Regions from separate parts of the Homo sapiens genome. Here region 1 is linked to region 2. Evidence: promoter capture Hi-C in human tissues and cell types (Jung and others, 2019). All regions are on one chromosome and are shown on one strand. Each heading gives the region's core, a stretch centred on a gene start or on the middle of the fragment in contact. The rest is flanking DNA. Distances are from core to core; before and after follow the strand shown. Region 1 has its middle 36 kb from the start of ZNF611. Region 2 holds the start of ZNF320 (zinc finger protein 320).

What was found. Contacts are between HindIII fragments. The study calls those that stand out against the background at their distance.
Region 1: a fragment that was not itself captured here is called in contact with the fragment with the promoter of ZNF320 in region 2 in 1 of the 25 tissues and cell types used here (liver).

The regions. Positions count from the first base shown.
Region 1 is chr19:52,695,738-52,702,552 of GRCh38, reverse strand. No RefSeq gene overlaps it. Among named protein-coding and RNA genes, the nearest start is that of ZNF611, 36 kb to the left of the region's middle. RefSeq lists enhancers at 3,179-3,989, 3,990-4,800, 5,612-6,423. The HindIII fragment of the contact is 5,162 bases long and covers 780-5,941 here.
Region 2 is chr19:52,895,061-52,902,848 of GRCh38, reverse strand. It overlaps ZNF320 (zinc finger protein 320), which reads left to right and starts at 5,214. Exons shown (of 6, transcript NM_001351774.2): 1 at 5,214-5,329. RefSeq lists enhancers at 5,200-5,279, 5,480-5,679. The HindIII fragment of the contact is 8,369 bases long and covers 2,442-7,788 here.

The DNA.
Region 1 (6,815 bases), core at 2,111-4,610, 200 kb after region 2:
GGATCAAGTGATGCTCCTGCCTCAGTCTCCTGAGTAGCTGGAATTACAGGCACCCACCAGCATGCCTGGCTAATTTTTGTATTTTTAGTAGAGACGGGGTTTCATCACGTTTGTCAGGCTGGTCTCAAATCCTGACCTTGTGATCCACCCGACTTGGCCTCCCAATGTGATGAGATTACAGGTGTGAGCCACTGCTCCCAGCCTCGGTTTTTTTTTTGTTTTTCTTTTTGTTTTTTTGGGGGTTTTTTTTTGAGATGGAGTTTTGCTCTTGTTGCCCAGGCTGGACTGCAATGGTGCGATCTGGTGTCACTACAACGTCTGCCTCCTGGGTTCAAGTGATTCTCCTGCCTCAGCCTACCAAGTAGTTGGGATTACAGGTGCCCTCCACCACTCCTGGCTAGGTTTTTGCATTGTCAGTAGAGACAGGCTCTCACTGTGTTGGCCAGGCTGGTCTCAAACTACTGACTTCTGGTGATCTGCCCACCTCGACCTCCCAAAGTGCTGGGATTACAGGCGTGAGCCACCGTGCCTGACCACTCATGTATTCTTGATTGAAACAATTTGCTTATGTCTTAGTTGTACACCTGACCTTCTTTCCCTGTTTCCAAGGTCAATAGCTATGTGTTCACAACTCTGCATTTTATAAATGTTACTGTGATTTTCTTGTAAGGAAGAACAAACTGTCAGGAGTCAATGGCCTCAGAACCTTGCAAAAGAAGTTTGTTTCTTTTTTTTCTTTTCTTTTTTTTTTTTGGAGACGGAGTTTCGCTCTTGTCCCCCAGGCTTGAGTGCAGTGGCACGATCTCGGCTCACTGCAACCTCCGTCTCCCGGGTTCAAGTGATTCTCCTTCCTTAGCCTCCCAAGTACCTGGGATTAGAGGCATGCACTACCACTCCTAGCTAATTTTGTATTTTTATAGAGACGGGGTTTCTCCGTGTTGGTCAGGCTGGCCTCAAACTCCTGACCTCAGGTGATCCACCCGCCTCAGCCTCCCAAAGTGCTGGGATTACAGGCTTGAGCCACCGTGCCCGGCAAAAGAAATTTCTTTAGCCCAGGTTTGTGAAAGAGCCTTCTCTAATTTTCCAGGATGGGGGTGATAAGATCAACCCTTCCCATTAGTCCCTGCAGGCCCCCATGTAAGAATTCAGGCACACCTCACTCATCTCAGACCTTCTCAGGGCAACTTGGTGAAAATGTCTTCCAATCTGAGCCCCAGTGAGCCTCCTTGGAACTTGGCGATGAGGGGCTACACCAGAAAAGCTCAACCCTAGTGACTTTGACCCCTGAAATGATTGACAAAATGGAGTGCGTGTGTGGGTGTGGCTTTTTTTTTAAATTTTTTTGAGGAGAGGAGTGCCCAGTTGTGATTAGAATTTTCAATGGGATGCAGTGCCCTAAAAATGAAAAACAAAAGCAGAAGAATGGAAGAAACAGAGGTAGACTCAGACACAGAGACCATCTTCGGGGCCTTTCTCTGTATGAGGACATCACAACAAAATCTAAAGCAGGTCATGTCAGTCCCTGACAGGGAACCCTCCACCAGCTTCCCGTGTTCCCCAGGACAAAAGCCCAACCCCTCACTGTGGCTCCACAGCCCTGTGTCCAGGGCCCCTTCCACTGTCCAGCCTCCTCCTGGGAGCTTGCCCTCATCTCATGACTCTCTCCGCCCCAGTCATATTTGCTTTTCTCTTTTCCCAAACATCAAAACCCTTCCTGTCTCAGGTCGTTGTCCCTGGTTTTACCCTACGTACCCTGTCACTTTCTCCTCCTTCAGGTCTAGGCTCAGAGCTGTCGCCCATGCCCTCCCACCCCCGGCTGTAGTTCCCTTGTCCATCAGTCTGTATCACGTTACTCAGGATTCATTGTCTGCATCAATCACATCAGAAATGCATTTTTTTTTTTTTTTTTTTTTTGAGACAGAGTCACTCTATCTTTCAGCCTATGAGTGCAGCCTCTTGATCTTGGCTCACTGCAACCTCTGTCTGCTGGGTTCAAGCAATTCTGGTGCCTCAGCCTCCCAAGTAGCTGGTGTGTCTGCCACCACACCCGGCTAATTTTTGTATTTTAACTTCCATTTTATATTATTTTTGAGTCTGTCTGTCACCAAGACTGGAGTGTAGTGGCGCCATCTCGGCTCACTGCGACCTCCACCTCCCGGGTTCAAGCAATTCTCCTACCTCAGTCTCCTGAATAGCAGAGATTACAGACACTTACCAAGCCCGGCTACTTTTTGTGTATTTAGTAGAGACAGCGTTTCACCATGTTGGCCAGGCTGGTCTCGATCTCCTGACCTCAAGTAATCAGCACACCTCGGCCTTCCAGAGTGCTAGGATTACCGGATGACCCACACGCCCGGCCCATTTTTGTATTTTTAGTAGATACAGGGTTTCACCATGTTGGCCAGGCTGCTCTCAAACTCCTCAGGTCAAGTGATCCTCCCACCTATGCCTCCTAAGTAGCTGGGACCACAGACACACAGACGTGCACCACCATACCTGGCGAAGTTTTGTATTTTTGGTAGAGATGGGGTTTCACCATGTTGCTCAGGCTGTTCTCAAACTCCTGAGTTCAAGCGATCTACCTGCCACAGCCTCCTAGAGTGCTGGGATGACAGGCATGAGCCACCGCACCCAGCCTCTGCGTGGGGTTTCGTCAGGGCTGGGTCTGTGCCCTGAAGGGGAGCTCATTCCAGCCCAGCTCCCCACTGCTGCAGCTTGTGTGTGGACTCCTCCAGAAGGGGAGCGGGAGTTTCCCTGTAGGAGTTTATCATCCATGGTGAGGAGGGCAGCAGGGGGCACTATTTCCTCAGGGTGAGGTCTTTAGTTAGGCCTCTGAGCCCAAGCTAAGCCATCATATCCCCTGTGACCTGCACGTATACATCCAGATAGCCTGAAGCAACTGTAAAAATATCCTTAACTGATGACATTCCAATATTGTGATTTGTTTCTGCCCTACCCTGACTGATCAATGTGCTTTGTAATCTCCCCCACCCTTCAGAAGGCTCTTTGTAATCCTCCCCACCCTTGAGAATGGACTTGGTGAGATCCACCCCCTGCCTGCAAAGCATTGCCCCTAACTCCACCGCCTGTCCCAAAACCTATGAGAACTAATGATAATCCCACCACACTTTGCTGACTCTCTTTCCAGACTCAGCCCGGCTGCACCCAGGTGAAATAAACAGCCTCGTTGCTCACACAAAGCGTGTTTGGTGGCCTCTTCCCACAGACGTGCGTGACACTTCGCATGTGTGGTTGTGTTCCAGGGAGGGGGTGTGTTGATTCTGAGCAACAAACAACATATTTTTAACATTCAGGATTGACTCCTAAAGACTCTTGGTACATGAGGAAGAAACCCGGAAGAGGAAGAGGAAAGCAAAGGAGTCAGGGATGGCTCTTCCTCAGGTGAGATGATATTCTCGGTGGATTGTTCTGTCTCCTTCCTTTCAGAAACCCTGGGCCTTGGAGTTGGGAATCTTCTCTGAGTCTGAAGCTTCCTGCCTGATACGTTTACTCACACTCACCCATGCCTTCCCTCAGTCCCTCTCATCTCGCTTAGATTCCATCTCTGGTGACCTAGTGACATGAAGTTGGAAAGAGGCTGCACTGGGCATGGGCCTGGGAAGGGCTCACACCCAGACATGGATGGAGACGGGGTGAGGGTCCCGTGGTGTCAGTGCTGTTGGGCAGAAGGGATTGTTCAGGGGCCACATATGGATGCACTGTCAGCTCTCTGTGGAGCAGGATTAGAGCAGCTGCCAATGGAAGTCACGTATTAATGTGCACAAAGTACGTGGTAAATTCTAGAAAAGGAAACCAATAAGTGAAAATCTTTTCTGCCTGCTTTCATGTGGGGAAAAGAAAGAGAGATCAGATTGTTACTGTGTCTGTGTAGAAAGAAGTAGACATAGGAGACTCCATTTTGTTCTGTACTAAGACAAATTCTTCTGCCTTGAGATGCTGTTAATCTATGACCTTACCCCCAACCCCATGCTCTCTGAAACATGTGCTGTGTCCACTCAGGGTTAAATGGATTAAGGGCGGTGCAAGATGTGCTTTGTTAAACAGACGCTTGAAGGCAGCATGCTCCTTAAGAGTCATCACCACTCCCTAATCTTAAGTACCCAGAGACACAAACACTGCGGAAGGCCGCAGGGACCTCTGCCTAGGAAAGCCAGGTATTGTCCAAGGTTTCTCCCCATGTGATAGTCTGAAATATGGCCTCATGGGAAGGGAAAGACCTGACCGTCTCCCAGCCCGACACCCGTAAAGGGTCTGTGCTGAGGAGGATTAGTATAAGAGGAAGGCACGCCTCTTGCAATTGAGACAAGAGGAAGGCATCCGTCTCCTGCCCGTCCCTGGGCAATGGAATGTCTCGGTATAAAACCCGATTGTATGTTCCATCTACTGAGATAGGGGAAAACCACCTTAGGGCTGGAGGTGGGACATGCGGGCAGCAATACTGCTCTGTAAGGCATTGAGATGTTTATGTGTATGCATATCTAAAGCACAGCACTTGATTTTTTACCTTGTCTATGATGCAGAGACCTTTGTTCACGTGTTTATCTGCTGACCTTCTCTCCACTATTATCCTATGACCCTGCCACATCCCCCTCTCTGAGAAACACCCCAAAATGATCAATAAATATGAAGGGAACTCAGAGGCTGGCGGGATCCTCCATATGCTGAACCCTGGTCCCCTGGGCCCCCTTATTTCTTTCTCTACACTTTGTCTCTGTGTCTTTTTCTTTTCCAAGTCTCTCATTCCACCTAACGAGAAACACCCACAGGTGTGGAGGGGCAACCCACCGCTTCACTTTCATACTACATTTTTAGGTAATTGAGTGAGTTATTGTGTTTCTGGCTCCAAAAATCGAACTAATTAGAGTGGAAAGTTCATACACAGACATGAATGATAGAAGGTGTTTTATTCCATCATTAGTTTAAGAATAGGAAATCAACCTAAATAATAGCAGGAGATTCATTAAACCATTCTTAACACATTAAGCTCATGGAGACTGTGGGGTTACTGTGGAGAGGCTTGTGAAACAGGTGTTTTTGGTAAAAATGGTTACAATTTATTTTTTGAGATGGAGTCAGCCTCTGCCACCCAAGCTGGAGTGCAGTGACATGATCTCAGTTTACTGCAACCTCTGTCTTCTGGGTTCAAGTGATTCTCCTGCCTCAGCCTCCCAAGTAGCTGGGGTTATAGGCGTGTGCCACCACGCCCGGCTAATTTTTTTGTATTTTTAGTAGAGATGGGGTTTCACCATGTTGGCCAGGGTGGCCTCAAAGTTCTGACCTCAGGTTATCCACCCACCTCAGCCTCCCAGAGTGCTGGGATTACAGGCACGAGCCACCGTGCTCAGCTCTACCAATGTTTATTAAATATATATTTTGATATTTAAACATCACAGGATGGATATATTTGTTTTCTAGTAAAACTCTTAGCAAAGCTGCAGACCCTTTGCCACAAAGCATCTCCTTTCCCTGTCACGTCCTCCACCCTCTTTCCAAACTCACTGGGGAGCCGCTACTGTCAGTTCTGTGCCAAGTGTCAGAGCAAGTCTTGTACACCTGTATTTCTGCATCATTATGAGACTTTAAAAATAATTCCGTAGTAAATTAAAAAAATAAAATGTTTTATAGTTATGTTTTTACTTTAGGATTGGGGCTACATGTGATGGTTTGTTACATAGGCAAACTCATGTCATTGGAGTTTGTTGTACACCGGTATCAAGCCCAGTACCCAGTAGCTTTTTTTCTTTTCTTTTTTTTTTGACACTGAGTTTTGCTCGTTTTTTGAGTCTGGAGTATGATGGCATGATCTCGGCTCACTGCAACCTCTGCCTCCTGGGTTCAAGCAACTCTCCTGCCTCAGCCTCCTGAGTAGCTGGGATTACAAGCACATGCCTCCATGCCTGGCTAATGTTTGTACTTTTAGTAGAGACAGGGTTTCACCATGTTGGCCAGGCTGATCTTGAACTCCTGACCTCAGGTGATCCAACCCCCTTGCCCTAGCAAAGTGCTGGGATTACAGGCGTGAGCCACTGTGCCCAGCCCCATTAGCTATTTTTTCTGCTCCTCTCTCCTCCCCATCTCCACCCTCACCTAGACCCCAGCGTCTATTGTTTTCTTTGTGTTTTAGTAAATATTTTACTTTGATATTTCATCCTGCTAGTTGTGAAAATTTACATGTTGTTATGTTAGTAAACATGGCTAGCTTGCTCTTTGACATCTGCATTGGAAATTGGCTGAATGACAGTATGTGGGTCCTTTGCAATTTTTCTCTGTATAAAGAGTGCCATAGTGGCTGCATCTGAGCATGCCTGCATTCCTACAGATATCTAAAGATTCCTCCATGTCAGGCAGTTGAAAGGGTGATTGCTTCCTCTAGGAGGGGACATTTCCTGTTTTCTTAGATCTGACAAGATTCCTCCCTGTCCCCAACTATCAAAGTATCCGTTTCCAGCAAGATGAGATTCCTCTTCAGTTAAACAAAACTTGCTACTTTTTATATTTTAAAAATCTTTATATATATATATACACACACACACACACATACATATACGTACACATTGGCACACATATATGTATATATTTTGAAAATTTGCTGGATGTGGTGACTCATGTCTGTAATCCTAGCACTTTGGGAAGCTGAGGTTGGTGGGTCACCTGAGCTCAGGAGTTCAAGACAAGCCTGGCCAACATGGTGAAACCCCATCTTTACTAAAAATACAGAAGTTAGCCGGGCATGGTGGTGGGCACCGGTAATCCCAGCTACTCTGTGGCTGAGGCAGGAGAACCACTTGAACCCA
Region 2 (7,788 bases), core at 3,965-6,464:
GTTTTTTCTTAAAGCATCAACCTGCTCTTTAACAAAAATTACAAAAAGTTAAAAAGAGTCTACAAAATCTAACCTTATGGTCAAACATGAAAAATTAGATAAATATGTCTACAAAGTTTCATTAAAATTAAATTTAACATTAGTAACACACTAATATAAAAGTAAAATTTAGCTTATCTGGTATAAAAATCATACAAGAAGCATTATTAAATATAAAATGGTGTTCAGCTTTCTTTGGTCTAAAAACTAATAAAAATCGGTGCTAAAGGAAGCATTCATTTTACTAGAGGATGATAGAAGTTAAAGACTTAAAACAAACTTTGGCAATTGAGACAGCATACCAAGATGCAAATGCCTGGTTGAAATAGATCAAATATTCCATCTGCACATTAAACAAAAGCAATTGTTATGCTTGTGCACATGGCAGGCCAGAGGCCCTGATTGTCCCCCTTCCACTAAGGTGGTCCTGTAGTTGACCAGGTGTGGGCTGCATGGTAGCTCTTTTCCAGGATTCTACAGCCTGGAGTAACATATAGCTCTCTCTGCTATATCCCGAAGTCCCTGCGGATCAGCCCCCGAGGGCCTTCCAGCTTCCGTCTCCCAATACTAAGTTCACTTCTTGTATCTCACGGCAGAGAGGAGATTTAGCATTCCTTGGAGACCTGAAAGGATGCAGTGAGCTTAAGAATTTTCAAGAGCTTATCAATCGGTCAGCCCTTGTTCATCTCTGAGCAGATGTGTGGTGGTATTGTAGTAGACCTTTAGTAGGCACTCTGCCGAATAACTAGAGTGGCACTTATGGTTTAGTCCATTTCACCCTGGTATTTCATCAACCAGAAAAAAAAAAAAGAAAAACTCATGTCAGCCCCAGCCCTGAGGCTACCTGACCTGACAAAACTCTTTGCACTCTATGTGTCAGAAAGAAAAAAAAAAATGGCAGTTGAAGTTTTAACCCAGACTGTAAGGCCCTGGCCAAGGCCAGTAGCCTGACTCTCAAAACAACTAGACGAGGTTTCCCAAGGCTGGCCCCCATGTCCAAGGGCCCTGGCAGCAATGGCCCTGTTAGCACAAGAAGCAGATAAGCTAACTCTTAGGCAAAACATAAACATAAAGTCCCTTTAATAAATAACAAAAGACATCATTAGCTAATAAACGCTAGACTAACTAGATACCAAAGCTTGCTCTGTGAAAATCCCCACATAACCATTGAAGTTTGCAACACCCTAACCCCGCCACCTTACTCCTAGTATCAAAGAGCCCAGTTAAACATAACTGTTTAGAGGTGCTGGACTCAGTTTATTCTAGTGGGCCCAACCTCTGAGACCACCCTTAAACATCAGTAGACTAGGAGCTGTACGTAGATAAGAGCAGCTTCGCCAACCCCTGCAAAGTGACTCTGAAGAAGATGACAAGCCCTGCTGCAGTCACACCCGGAAGCTGACTGGTCCACGCACGACTGAAGCAGGAAGAAACTCATCGCAGGACTCATTTTCCTTAAAATTTAGACTTGTACAGTAAGGACTTCAACTGACCTTCCTCAGACAAAGAACTGTTTCCAGTATCTACATCAAGTCACTGAAGTTAGACAAAAGATTGCTACAGTCCTATTATTTTATAGTTATTATAAGTGTACCAGGATTCTAAAAGAAATTTGTTTGTATAATGCTATTCTATCCAAAGTATGTAGCCCAAGGAATAACCAACCTGATGTGTGTTATAACCCATTTTAAGCCTCCCATGATTACAGTTTTTAAAATAAAATTAAAGACTAGTCTTTTTCTAAGTGACACAAGTAAAATAATAGCTAGAACAGAAGAGGGGTCCCCAAAAATATAACCTTAAAATTTGATGCTTGTGCCACTATTGATAGTAAGCAGCATAGAATAAGATGCAGTTCTCTAAATTAGAAAAAAAGTTACACAGTTAAAAAAAAAAATAAGTATATCTGTCAAGAATCATATTTATGTGAGATGTGTCAATACTAGTCTTATGTCATTTGGGCTACTTAAAAAGAAGATAAAAATAATCCTGTTTAGCTCCAAAAAAGAAAAGTCAGCCCCTCTTGCATGAGTGGGGGCTGCAGCCTTTTAAAATTGATAATCACAAACCCATCAGACCCAAAGTACAATTAAAAAAAAAATGTAAATTAAGCATTGATGAAAAAAAACTAGATCCTAGCGTAAACATCCTAATAAAAAAAGAAGTTGAAAAATGCTCTCCAGAACCAGTATTTCAGGCTTTCTATGATGAAATAAATGTGCCAGTACCTAAGATTCCAGGAAAAACTAAAAATTTGTTTTTGCAATTAGCCTAACATGAGGCCCAGTCTCTACAAGTCACCTCATGTTATGTTTGTAGAAGAACTGTAACAAGAGATCAATGGCCATAGGAAGCCCGAGAATTAGTTCCTACAAACCCAGTTCCTGATGAATTCCCAGCCCAAAAGAACCACCCTGACAATTTTTAAGTTCTAAAAGTCTCAATTATTAGACGGTATTGCATAGCTAGAGAAAGAAAAAAATTCACTCATCATCCTGTAAGGCGGCTTAGTTGTCTTAGGCAAAAGTTGTATAATAGTACCACAAAAACAGTTACATACTAAAGTTCCAGTTACACAAAAAGAAATCCATTCAGTAAATTTCCAAAGTTGCAGACTGTTGAGGCCCACCCGGAATTCCACCAGGACTAGACGGCCCCCACCAGGTTATACCAGATACATAGACAGAGCTCATGCTAAGCTGCCTGATCAGTGGACAGGTAGCTGTGTAATTGGCACCAGTAAGCCATCTTTCCTCTTACTGCCCATAAATACAGGTGAACTTCTAGGCTTCCCAGTCTATGCTTCCTGTGAAAAACGAAGCATAGCCATAGGTAATTAGAAAGATGATAAATGACCTCCTAAAGAATTATATAATACTGTAAGCCTGCCACTTAGACACAAGACAGCTCATGAGGTTATCGAACCCCCATCTACATGCTCAACCGAATCATACAGTTGCAAGCTGTTTTAAAAATTATTACTAATAAAACCGGTCAAGCCTTGACTGTTCTTGCCCGGCAAGAGACTCTGATAAGAAATGCTATCTATCACCGGGCGCGGTGGCTCACGCCTGTAATCCCAGCACTTTGGGAGACTGAGGCGGGCAGATCACAAAGTCAGGAGATCAAGACCATCCTGGCTAACACAGTGAAACCCCGTCTCTACTAAAAATACAAAAAATTAGCCGGGTGCGGTGGCAGCACCTGTAGTCCCAGCTACTAGGGAGGCTGAGGCAGGAGAATGGCGTGAACCCGGGAGGTGGAGCTTGCAGTGAGCTGAGACTGCACCACTGCACTCCAGCCTGGGTGACAGAGCGAGACTCCATCACCAAAAAAAGAAAAAGAAATGCTATCTATCAAAATAGACTAGCTCTCGACTACTTGCTAGCAGCTGAAGGAAAAGTTTGTAGAAAATTTAACCTTACTAATTGTTGTCTACACATAGATCATCAGAGGAAAGTAGTTGAAGACATAGTTAAAAATATAACAAAACTGACACATGTACCCGTACAGGTGTGGCACGGACTCAATCCAGGAGCCATGTTTAAAAATTAGTTCCCAGCAATAGGAGGATTTAAAACTCTTATAATAAGAGTTATAATAGTAATAAAAAGCTGCTTACTGCTCTCTTGTTTGCTACCTGTACCTCTTCAAATGATAAAAAGCTTCATCGCTACCTTAGTTCACCAAAATGATTCAGCACAAGTGTACTATATGAATCACTATCAATCTATTACACAAAAAGACATAAGTAGCAAAAACAAGAGTAAGAACTCCCACTAATAAAAAGTGAGACTCTCAAAAAGAAGAAATAAAGGAAGACAGAGACCCTCTCATATTGTTTTATACTCAGTACCTGTTTTAAGAAAAAACAACAAGAAAGTAAAACCAAAGACAGGCAGCCCCGGGGCCAGGCCCGAAACCAGGCCTGGGCCTGCCTGGCCTAAACCCAGTAGTTAAAAATCAACTTATGGCTTAGAACCCAATGTTATTCATAGATTCCAGACATTGTATAGAAGAACATTGTAAAACTCCCCGCTCTGTTCTGTTTCTCTCTGACCACCGGTGCATGCATCCCCTGTCACGTACCGCCTGCTCGCTCAAATCAATCACGACCCTTTCATGTGAAATCTTTAGTGTTGTGAACCCTTAAAAAGGACAGAAATTGTGCATTCAGGGAGCTCGGATTTCAAGGCAGTAGATTGCTGACGCTCCCAGCTGAATAAAGCCCTTCCTTCTACAACTCAGTGTCTGAGAAGTTTTGTCTGCCGCTAGCCCTGCTACACACTGTTACAATGTCAATGCTTTTTTTAAAAATCCCTTTTTTTCTTATTGAGGCGGAGGAAGGAGCTCTGGGGTAGAGGGTCTTACTTTGTCGCCCACGCTGGCCTGGACCTCCGGGCTCAGCGGTCTTGCGGCTCCTGCTTCCTGAGTAGCCGGGACCCCAGACTCGCCACCTCGCCCACATCCCTGCTGTGTTTAAGCAGGAGGTGGTGACCTCACTCCTCCCTGGCCTGAGGCCTCCGCTCCGCACCCCAGGCGGTGGCCCTGAGGAAGTCTCTGGAGCTGAGCACAGGGTGGATTCTCCCACCCCAGTGAATGGAAAATAGAAAGGGAGAGGATTTGCTATTCTGTTCTGTGGGCCGTCAGCAGGAAATTGGAGGTTTCGCTGAGGCAGAGCTTTGTATTTCGCATTCTAGTTTGCATTCCTTCCCTTGACAACTTCCAGATTTTGGACATAAATTGCTAAAATTAATTTCAATAGCAAGGAACTTTCCTGGGTCCAATGACCGCCTCACGTTGACTTCTCAGGGAGGTACTATTTCAATGACTGCTGAGCTGCTCCAGCCTCACTGGCGGCTTTCGCCTCCAAAACCTGGAAAAAAGGCGCAGAGAGCGAGATGGAGGAAAGCTCAGGACCCACCCGCTTCTCGCCCCCGCCGACCCCTCATAGCCCAGGACTCTTCTCCCAGCCAGGCCCCTTGTTTCTCAACCCCGCCCCGGCCTTGTTCAGGCCCCGCCCACCTCTTCGCGTCTCATCCCGGCCTAGTCCAGGCCCCGCCTACCTTCTCGGGGGTCCCGCCCAGGCCTGGCCTCTGTCCTGCGCTGATTGGCATAGACCCGGAAGCGGATGGCAGGGACTGAAGGTCACACCACAGCGCGTGAGTTTCGCTCTGTTTTATGTGTGCTTCCCAGTCCTGTGGTGCTGCTATACCGGGGACGTTGAGTCCCCACAGACCTGGAAATTGCGGCCCCTCTTTCTCAACCCAGAGCAAATTGAGACGTCCGGGTGAGAGTCCGTGAGTCCCTTCGAGTTTAAAGTGGCCCTGAGGCAGGTCCCGTCCTCGGTCTTTCTGCAGTGGGGTCGTGCAGACACCTCCTATCGCGGAATTTTCCTTCTCAAAACCCTTCCTGACCTGTCCTCCCGCCTCGCGCTGTTTCAAGTCCTCACCCGCGAGCTGGATTCCAGCCCTAGGCGCCTCCCACCGTCGCTCTCGGCGGCTTCAGGAGCGCCGCGCCTCAACCCCGGTTCCCGGGAGGCCGCGTCCTCTGCCTGGTCCTAAGATCCTGCAGACGCCACCCCTGTCCGAAGGCTCCGTCGCTCCCCACCTCCCTCCTTGTGCGGTGTTGCTACCTAGTTCCAACTCCTGGAAAACGAATATATGCAATCAAGAAAGCACTCCACAGAGGGGAGTGGGCCCGAGCCAGCGTCTCCGGGGACCCGTTTAGAAAGTTTTAGGGGGTTAAAGTATTTATTTTGAGGTCCCTATGGGCTACCCCTTATCTGGATGAAGGATTTTTGGCCCTTGGCCAACGAAATGCTGAGGTGAATTGGCCCGAGGCCGGAGCAGATGGGTGCCCTATGCAGATGAAGGTGTGGCCGGTGCTTGGCCATGGCCACTCCTGGGCTCTTTCCCTTTCTGAGACGTGGTGGAAGGAGGAGGGCGGTAGGGACAGCGGCCTTTGATCCTTTGTTACTCCGGATGGGGAGATGGGGTTTTTCCTTTTTGTCTAGTTTTAGAAAGTTTGCCTTAATTGGCCTTAGATTCGCTGCCCCCAGACCCAGGACCCAGGTATTTCTTTTTTATTCTTTTTTATTGGAGATGGGGTCTCACTCTGTTGCCCAGGCGGGAGAGCGGTGACAGGATCACAGCTCACTGCATCATCAACATCCTATGCTCAAGCGATCCTGTCACCTCAGCCTGCAGAGTAGCTGGGACCACAGCCGCGCGCCACCACACCGCGCTAATTTTTGTGTACTTGGTAGAGACGGGCTTTTGCCTTGTTGCTCAGGCTGGTCTCCAACTCCAGGGCTCAAGCGATCCAGCTGTATCGCCCTCCCAAAATGCTGGAATTACAGGCATGAGCCACCATGCCCGCCTTGTTTCTTAATTAAAAAATAAATAAATAAAAATAAAGGCCGTGTGCAATGGCTCATGCCTGTAATCCCAGCACTTTGGGAGGCCAAGGCGGGCAGATCACCTGAGGTCAGGAGTTCGAGACCAGCCTAGTCAACATGGCGAAATCTCGTGTCGAATAAAATACAGAAATTAGCCAGGTGTGATGTCGGGCGCCTGTAATCCCAGCTACTCAGGAGGCTGAGGCAGCAGAATCCCTTGGACAGGGAGGGGGAGGTTGCAGTGAGCTGAGATCATGCCACTGCACTCCAGCCTGGGGTGACAGAGCGAGACTCCGTCTGAAAAAAGTAAGATAACTACTTTTCAAATAAGCTTTGGTAGAATCTTATGAGCTCACATCATTGTTTTCCAACTATGATATGAGTTCAAAATTTTCTTCTTTGACCCTACATTTTATTAGATATATACATTTTTAGATGTATATATTTTTAACCATTTTAAAAGTTTCTCTATGAAATTTGTTGTGTTCAGTTTACATAGAAGACTGCATGCTTTCTAGTCTGTATCATATATTGGAAGCATTTACTAGTACCTGATAAATGATTTTAGGTTGTTTCTTTTTTTCTTTCTTACTTTTTTTTGAGACAAAGTCTCCCTTCTACCCCCAGGCTGGAGTGTGATGGCACGATCTCGGCTCACTGCAACCTCCGTCTTTTGGGTTCAAGCTCTTCTCCTGCCTCAGCCCCCAAGTAGCTGGGATTACAGGCGCCTGCCACCACGCCTGGCTAATTTTTGTATTTCTAATGGAGACGGGGTTTCACCATGTTGGCCAGGCTGGTCTTGAACTCCTGACCTCAGGTGATCCGCCCACCTCAGCCTCAGAAAGTGCTGGGATTACAGGTGTGAGCCACCGTGCCTGGCCAATTTTAGGTTGTTTCAATGTGTACTTTATAAAGATATCAAGGACCTATTTTGTTTGTTTGTTTTGAGATGGAGTTTTGCTCTTATTGCCCAGGCTGGAGTGCAATGGCGCGATCTTGGCTCACCACAACCTCCGCCTCCTGGGTTCAAGTGATCTCCTGCCTCAGCCTCCCCAGTAGCCGGGATTACAGGCATGTGCCACTGCGCCAAGCTAATTTTGTATTTCTAGTGGAGATGGGGTTTCTCCATGTTTGTCAGGCTGGTCTCAAACTCCCAACCTCAGGTGATCCACCCACCTCGGCCTCCCAAAGTGCTGGGATTTAAGGTGTGAGCCACCACGCCCGGCCCCAGGACCTTTCTTCTTTACGCTAACATCAAAATTTGGTTCAAGTAGCCTATTCTATTTTCTTTCCTTATGTCATCTGATAAAATGGTGAGCTGTGAGCTTCTAAGTAAATGTCTCCCTCAA